3 separate regions of the Homo sapiens genome follow, and all the other regions are linked to region 2. The links are contacts of gene promoters, found by promoter capture Hi-C in blood cells and fetal thymus (Javierre and others, 2016). All regions are on one chromosome and are shown on one strand. Each heading gives the region's core, a stretch centred on a gene start or on the middle of the fragment in contact. The rest is flanking DNA. Distances are from core to core; before and after follow the strand shown. Region 1 has its middle 13 kb from the start of LINC01018. Region 2 holds the start of ADAMTS16 (ADAM metallopeptidase with thrombospondin type 1 motif 16). Region 3 overlaps TENT4A (terminal nucleotidyltransferase 4A).

Region 1 (2,700 bases), core at 200-2,699, 1.4 Mb before region 2:
GTGTGCTCAGGACAGCTGGTGAGAAAACAGGCAGGACCTGCCTGGGCCTGTGAAGATGTCACTCAGCAGGGGTCTTCAGTGCATCCCTAACGTGGCTTATCCCCTGTTTCCAGAAGAGAAACCCACTTGTCCTCCATTGGGTGTGCTGTGGAGAAGCAGCGTGGCCCTGTACAGTTCCCCTCCCCCAGCCTGTGCTGTTAGCCTTGGCTAAGGACTTTCTTCTTGACTCTGTCCAATGTGTTCTTTGGAAATGTGGATCCCCAAACAGGAAACGTTTTCCACAAGGGCTTGACCGGACTTGGTACGGGGAGAAAATGAGTGCTTGTGTTGATTCATTTCTGCTCTGTAAATAGCCATTGGTTTTTCAGGCCCTCTCTGGGCTGCACACTGTACCCAGTGCTGGGGGTTCAGGCCTGTGGACCCTGAGGCTGCTCCCCACTCGTGCTGTGTCTAAGGGAGGCACACGCCACAACAGATAATCTCCATGTCGTCAGCCAACAGGCTGTGGCAGGGCTCGCAGCCCGACATGGGGTTTTGCAGAAGTCTGCTTTCTAGACTTATACGTGTGCCAGGTAGTAATGTGCAGAGTTTGAAAAGTTGAGTATTGCTAAGGGTTTCATACAACAGTTCTCTGCTCCACTTTGAACTCTTAGCTTTTTTTTTTTAAATATACCTTTAAAATTTTAATTGATATGTGTATTAGTCAGGATTCTCTAGAGGGACAGAACTAATAGGATATATTATATATTATATATAATAGGATATATATGTGTATATATAATAGGATATATATGTGTATATATAATAGGATATATATGTGTATATATAATAGGATATATATGTGTATATATAATAGGATATATATGTGTGTGTATATATATATCAGCAGGGGTCTTCAGTGCATTTGTAACATGGCTATCCCCTGTTTCCTTTATATATATATATATACACCCACACACATATAAAGGGGAGTTTATTAAGTATTAACCCACATGATCACAAGGTCCCACAACAGGCCCTCTGCAAGTTGAGGAGCAAGGAGAGCCATTCTGAGTCCCAAAACTGAAGAACTTGGAGTCCAATGTTCGAGGGCAGGAAGCATCTGGCATGAGAGAAAGATGTAGGCTGGGAGGCTAGGCCCGTGTAGTCTTTTCATATTTTACTGCCTGCTTTATGTTCTAGCCATACTGGCAGCTGATTAGATGGTGTCCACCCAGATTAAGGGTAGGTCGACCTTTCCCAGCCCACTGAGTCAAATGTTAATCTCCTTTGGCAACACCCTCACAGACACGCCCAGGATCAATACTTTGCATCCTTCAGTCCAATCAAGTTGACACTGTATTAACCATCAGAATATGTCATTCTTTTGTCTCTTGATTTATTAATTTAATTTAGTTAAGTTTCTTTTATGGAAAATATCAATCATACAAAAGTGGGGAGAATGGCACAATGACCCTTCCTCATGCAGCTGTCACCCAGCTCCAACAAGTGACAACCTTTGTCTAATCTAGTTATATCTATGCAGACTGGTCCCCTGATGCACACACACACACACACACGAGACACTATCATTTCATTCATAAATTTTCAGGATGTGTTTTCTCTTAACACAAATGTGATGTGATTTTTCTCACCTAAAGGCAGAGTTGAATTCTGCTGTGCTCCAGTTTAAAAACAAGCTCAGGATCTTAGCAGCTTGAAGGACACATTGTGTTGCTACTGTATTATCCCCTCCCTCTCCCGTCTTTCCCCTTCCCGTCTTTCCCCTTCTTCCCGTCTGATTTCCAGGGGACTATCAGCTCCAGGAGGCAGGGCCCCTGTTGAGCTTGTGCACAACTGTCTGTGTCTTAGCACCCTGCACTTGGGAGTACTCGATGCGCACTCATAGAATGCATCTGGATGTCCTGAAACAAGCCATTTCCTCCCCATTTGCATTTCTTTCCAAAATGCATTTCCACGCCCTGCAGGGCTCTACTTCTTGCTCTAATAAACTGAATCCCCTTCAACAAAGTCAACTGGTATTTTAATTTTCATCTTGTGAGAAGTGGTTTCCCAAATGATTATCCAATCTAGTGGTTCTCCACCCTGGCTGGCCATTAGAATCACCCGAGTGGCTTTGAGAAAACCCTGGGCCCACCTTAGAGAACCTAAGATGACAGGTCTAGGTGGGTGGGTCCCTGGGTGGTCTTGATGGGCAGCCATGGTGGAGAAACTATAACCCAGCCCATTCTCAAAGCACTGACAGTATCCAGAGGGCAGACAGGCTGGTTAGTGGAAATAACTGCTCTGAATGCCTGAAATCATTTGCTTGACCCAGTTTTCTTTCTTTCAAGCCCAGGCAACAGCTGGGGCCGGACTATTAAGCCAATGAGCTCAGCCTAATTGGAAACCACCAGGGACCTCATTGTCCAGTGAGATGGAGCAGCTCGTGCTGGCCCTTCCAAATGCGCGTGTCTTACAAGTGATGCTTCCCAGGTGTTACACAGAGGCAGGGCCCTTCGGAAAAGTCAAGACTCATCTTTATTCCTTCAACACCCCAGACTAAAACCTTTTTTCCCCCGAGGCTCCACAAACTAAGTGGAGAACCTCAGTGTGCACCTGTTATCACCTGGGTGCTTTCGGGTAAATGAGATGCAGTGAAACATCTTATGGGCATGGGAAGGTGTGATGGGCAGAGTTCTAAGATGGCCTTCAGGATTC
Region 2 (2,700 bases), core at 151-2,650:
TATTTTATCAAATTGAAATAACTATACTGAGAAATTCTGAATTGTTAACTTTAATTTTCTAGATCTTCTGGAAATACATTGAGAGAATGAAACCTAGTTCTTCCTATAAAAGTCAATTAATATTAACATTTGATACGGCAATTTATTGTTGGTAACAATGCAAAATAATATTTATTAACTGTCATTGGATGGGTTCAGGTTAAAAAACCACCTAGCAACCAGTGCGACACACCTGCGTTCTCATTTACCTGATGCAGTATGAAGACACAGAGATCCCTTTCCATAAGACAGCAAATTTCCAAATGTCACTTGTAAGTGGCAGAAGTAAAAGCATGCATTGAAAAAGAATAAGACTTGCCCTCATGTCAAATTGTGGCCCAGGATATGAACGTTGCTGATGGTGTCACAATCAGCTGATTAGCCATTTCAGGCACTATTATGTTTGAAGTACGCCCTGATTGTTGGAGCATTAACTTTGGTATTGAGATGCTAAGCGCTTCTTTTATCTCCTTCACTGAGAATAAGCAACGATAGAGGAATATTTTAATCTATAAAGGAGGAGAAGGAGGAAAGGTTGGGGACGGGAAGGAGGATCCGAGGATGTAGAAGGGGACGGAAAAGAAAGTAATTTGCTCTTTATGACGGCTTTGATGCATACATTAATAGCTTTAGATTCTTCCTAAGCTCTTTAGAATAAAATAAAATGAACTTCCTCACCTTTTTCCTAATGTTATATCAATAACTCTGGCAAACCGTTTTGCCAGGGAATAAAATGTAAATATTGGTGGAAATCCACTCATCGGGGCTCGCTCATACAGTTAAAAAAAAAAAAAGTTCACAACAGCATCTTAAAAGTAGGGTTCCACAGAGTCGTGAACATTCACAGCACCTAATAAACCAGCGGCACGGAGATTACGAGCTGCTAAATGGCAAGGATTAGAAGCCCCCACCTCACGGACTTACCGCCCTTTTCCATCCAGCCCGGCCGCTCCGCGGGTGGAGGAGGACGCGGGACGCTCGGGCTCCCAGGCGCTGCCGCTGCGGGTCCCATGGCGCACGCAGGTGCCTGCGGAAAACAGCGGCGACATCGCGGTGAGACGGCGGGGTCCGCGGGAGAGGAGCCGCGGGGGACTCGCCTCCAGCTGTCCGGACCCGCGGTTTCCGCGCTGGTGGGAGCGCCCGGGACTCACCTGCTCGGCCACCTGCGCCAACAGCATCCACAGCGCCGCCAAGCCCCGCCATCCGCGCGCGCGGGGCTTCATCCAGGAGCGCTCCGAGGGGCTAGGGGCCACCGGAGGGTCCCCGGCCGGCAGCGTGCGAGCGGGCAGGGAGGACCCGACCCAGGCAGAGCGCGGGAGGATTCCCCACAGCGACTCCGCCGCCGCGCCGGGGTTATTACTGAAGCTCCGTGCGGCGCGGGGGGCGGAGTGGCAGCCGCGGCGGCGGGGGCGGCGGGAGCGGTGGGAGAGCGCGGGGCGGGCAGGGGAGAGAGGAGGGGAGGAGGTGAGGGCGGGGGGGTCAGAGGACCGAGGAGGGGAGAGTGCAGGGACAAAGAGCAGAGGGGAGGAGGCGAGGTCAGCGGGGCGCTGAGGCGGAGGCGAGCGGGGAGCAGAGGGAAGGCGGGAGACAGCGGGCAGCGCCAGAGGAGGAGGACGCGGGAAGATGGAGCTGCCCACGGCCTGCAGTCCGTGCCTCTCTGCCCGCGCGGGGACCACACAGTTGGAGAGGCTGCCGGGCACCGGCGCGGGCGATGCTCAGCATGGACCTCCGGCCGGTGCGCGCTCCTGCCCTGCCTTGGGGCTGGGGACTCGGCGGGACTCCAGCTACTGCAGTGGCTCCGCGGGCTCCCACCTCCGGGCCGCACCGGCGCCGCCAGAGGCCGGGACACCTGCAGCCCGCGGAGTGCGGTCTGGCCGCGCCTCTGTGCCCGGGCACAGCTGTGGGGACACTGGGTGCGGAAAACCGGGCGCCAGGACGTGGGAGAGCCGCGGACCTGCCTTTAAAGGCGCGTGCCTCGCTCTGGAGTTTGCGGAGCGATCGGAGACGGGGAGGCTGAGGAGGAAACTCTTCCCCCGCGCCATTTGCCCCGAGATGTGGCGGCGCTCCTGGCCCCGCGGTCACGGCCACCCTCAACTGGCCAGGCCGCGGAGGCCGGTGACTGGCTGCTGGGTGCAATCCCTAGGGAGGTCTCAGGGCTGCGGATGGGCCTGGGTCTCGGCCGCCACGGGGGTCGATCGGGCTACTGTGTGGACAGGGTGGCCAAGGAGGCAGCAGGTGTGCGGTCAACAGCCTGGCCAGAATTCTGCTGTAGCTGGATGGGGTGTGTGAGCGCGCGGGTGTACATGTGCCTGGGTGTGCGCGGGTGTACATCCACACCTGACTGCGTGTGCGCGAGTACACGCTGTGAGCCCATAGTGTGTCTGGAATTGGTGGGTTCTTGGTCTCACTGACTTCAAGAATGAAGCCGCATACCCTCGCGGTGAGTGGGTACAGCTCTTAAGGTGGTGCGTCTGGAGTTTGTTACTTCTGATGTTCAGATGTGTTCGGAGTTTCTTCCTTCTGGTGGGTTCGTGGTCTCGCTGGCTCAGGATTGAAGCTGCAGACCTAGGCGGTGAGTGTTACAGCTCTTAAGGCAGAGCCTCTGGAGTTGTTCGTTCTTCCCGGTGGGCTCGTGGTCTCGCTGGGCTCAGGAGTGAAGCT
Region 3 (2,700 bases), core at 69-2,568, 1.6 Mb before region 2:
AGGAACAGGAGCAACCCCTAGGGTCGGTGGAGGTATAGTAAACCTGGTCTAGGAACAAAATGAGAGACGGCCATGGGTACCAAAGCAATCAGAGGAAAACCATCCGGCTTCTAAGCTCAGCACCACCAAAGGGCAGCTGATAAATGGCACAGTTGCATGTGGGCTCCATAGAGCAGTCTGTTTTACTATTACCTAACAATATTGTGCTTTGAATTGGAAATACTTCGTATTCTAAAACAGCAACTGGCATATAAAGTATGCCCAGTAATCCAAGTCATAAAGTTTGAAACTCATTGAAGATCAAACGATCAAGACATTAGAGTCATCAGAAGAACAACCGTCACCCCCGTGGTGAACCCCCTACTCACACGCTGAACTCAGGGGTCACAGCCCAAGGCTGGCCCAACTGGTGGCCTGAGAGGCCGTGGGACGGCTGGCAGTTCCTTCCTTGCCTGCTGTCCAGGTCCCAGGCTGCTTCTATGTCAGCATCACCCGTTACTGTCAGCAGCAGAAGTGCGCTAACGAGAACCCCTTTTCTCAGACTTGCAATACTGACCTGGTTGCATCTTGGCATCCCGTGCATTTACCCCAACAACCTCTGGAGATTGACTGTGGCCAAGAGTCTTCTTAGATAAAAACCTATAAACCCTCAGCGTCCCTGGACTTCACACTCGAACCACACAAGCAGCCGCAGAGTGTGGCTCTGTAGCTCAGCAGCCGCACTGGGCTCTCAAGGGCCCCAAGGCTTGTGGGTGGTTAAAACAAACACCTTTGTGACACATGGCCAGGACGTCAGGGCCACTGTGATGACCATAAAAAGGCGACCAAGTTTATCTGTGGTATAATTCATTTTAAGAGTGTAAATAATTGCCCCTGAATTTTACACTTATGCTGCAATTAGACACGTTACGGTGTCCGGCTGGGCCATGGCTCTGCTCATCAGCTCTGTGGGTCATTACAGAGCCAGCATCCCAGAAGCTCCGCCAGAATCACGGTGGATCCTGTGAGAATGTCTTCCCCAGAGCAGAGTGCAAAACTCCAAGAAATGAGTCAAAACACTTTTGCATGTACCTACATAGCTTTATGCTCAAATTATACCCCACATTTCAGAAAATGGTTTTAAGTCAATTAACATGTTGGGTTTTATACCCACACATATTCAAGTGATGTATAATCGCAAGTAGATACAAAATTTAGTATTTATAAAATTATCCTTTAGATTTCTAATTTTATCTAAATTTTAAAAACAGTATATTCCAACAGAAAAAGCCTTAGAAATTATGCCTAATTTCAAACATGAAAAAAGTCTAATAAGTTCACATTAAAACTTTCATTGAGATTCTGAGAGGAAGTAGGGACAAGTGTCTGGCACGGCTTGGCGCCCAGCTAAGTGGGTCGTGACTGAGTCGCTCTCTCAAGATGACCCTCGACAGCAGTCTCATGCTGGGGCAGTGAGGAAACTTGCAGGAAGGCAGTCAACCTGGCCCCCGTGAAAAGCCACGGCAGCACTCAAGAACCACAGTGTCCTCGCTGCTGAAACTATACATGGGGGACCTCAACACCACAAAAAAGAGAGGATTTCCTAGAACAACACACCAATGGCCAAATACTCAAAAAGTTACTCTTCTAATTCAAAGGACCATCAATCTCCTCTAGTGCATATCACAGCTCGGATGCTGTTCCCAGGGGCCACCAGCGGGAAGGGTGCCAGAGGGCCACGTACCTGATTGTTGGTTGTCATGATCAGTGTTCTGGAAGTGGTGGGCTGAGGTTTGCCACTGGGCATTGGCAAGGCGGTGGGTAAGCCGGCCATGAGAGGAGCTGGCGCTTGCAGACTGAACTGGTAAACACTGGGCGTTGTGCAGGGCGGTGTGTCTGAATCCTTGAACCCGGTACAAAAAACAAAAAGGACAGCTGTACCACAAAGGTGCACTACTACTTCCTTAAAGCTATGAAAAGAAACGCCTGCATCCAGGCTGGCTATGAAAGGTTATTCAAATTAAGTCTAACTTCTGAACAGGCAGCCCAAACCTACCCAGGCTTCCTTCAAGTAATTTCATCACAACTGAAAAAGAATGTTAAAGGAAATACAGAAGAGATACTTGGATTTAATTTTTTTTTTAATCTTCAAATAAATTTTTAAAAACTACTCAAGGAAGTCCACTGTAGTTCAACCATTTAGAGGATTACTGCCCTCGACAGCCGCATGAGTCGCACAGACAGGTTCTGAAGGTTCACGGCAGGGGAAAGGAAGCCTGGTGCCCACATCACGGGGCTGCCCCCCACCCACCTCCACACACATACAAGGAAACAAAACCTGAGCAAAACCAAGGGGGAGATTTTAAGCTCGCGGCTATGGACATTTACCAGAGACACAAACTGTCCAACAGACACACGGAGGAGGGGAGGGCACTTACAACGTCACTCCCAGAAAGTGAAGACACAGAAGAGGCCGAGGAGCCTGAAGACAGGAGCTGGGGGCTGGACAGCGACAAAGTCAAGCGCTGGCCATAGGGAGACTCGGGCTCTCGGTTCTGCGTCTGCTCCCCATTGCATGTGGCTATTCGCTCTTTGATCTTGATCCTGCTGTCTGTGGAGGGAAAAAGCCTTGGTTAATAACTCCTGAGAACTGCGGCGTGGAGCCGCCCCGGCAGCATCAGTCACGGGCTCTGCTGAGCCGGGAACGCTGCTAATGTGACT

The links. Contacts are between HindIII fragments. The CHiCAGO score rates a contact against its expected background, and 5 or more counts as called.
Region 1: a contact is called between a fragment that was not itself captured here and the fragment with the promoter of ADAMTS16 in region 2, in 1 of 17 cell types (M2 macrophages). The highest score is 6.4, in M2 macrophages.
Region 3: a fragment that was not itself captured here is called in contact with the fragment with the promoter of ADAMTS16 in region 2 in 3 of 17 cell types (total B cells, naive B cells and naive CD8 T cells); the score reaches 10.8 in total B cells.

The regions. Positions count from the first base shown.
Region 1 is chr5:6,568,260-6,570,959 of GRCh38, reverse strand. No RefSeq gene overlaps it. Among named protein-coding and RNA genes, the nearest start is that of LINC01018, 13 kb to the left of the region's middle. The HindIII fragment of the contact is 5,226 bases long and covers 1-2,700 here.
Region 2 is chr5:5,139,030-5,141,729 of GRCh38, reverse strand. ADAMTS16 (ADAM metallopeptidase with thrombospondin type 1 motif 16) reads right to left here and starts at 1,400. Exons shown (of 23, transcript NM_139056.4): 1 at 1,191-1,400; 2 at 964-1,066. The coding sequence starts at 1,262. ADAMTS16-DT (ADAMTS16 divergent transcript) reads left to right here and starts at 1,676. Exons shown (of 4, transcript NR_109915.1): 1 at 1,676-1,774. RefSeq lists an enhancer at 1,628-2,194. The HindIII fragment of the contact is 3,896 bases long and covers 1-2,700 here.
Region 3 is chr5:6,750,221-6,752,920 of GRCh38, reverse strand. TENT4A (terminal nucleotidyltransferase 4A) reads right to left here. Exons shown (of 13, transcript NM_006999.6): 10 at 2,418-2,590; 11 at 1,724-1,882; 12 at 1-48. Among named protein-coding and RNA genes, the nearest start is that of TENT4A, 38 kb to the right of the region's middle. The HindIII fragment of the contact is 7,499 bases long and covers 1-2,700 here.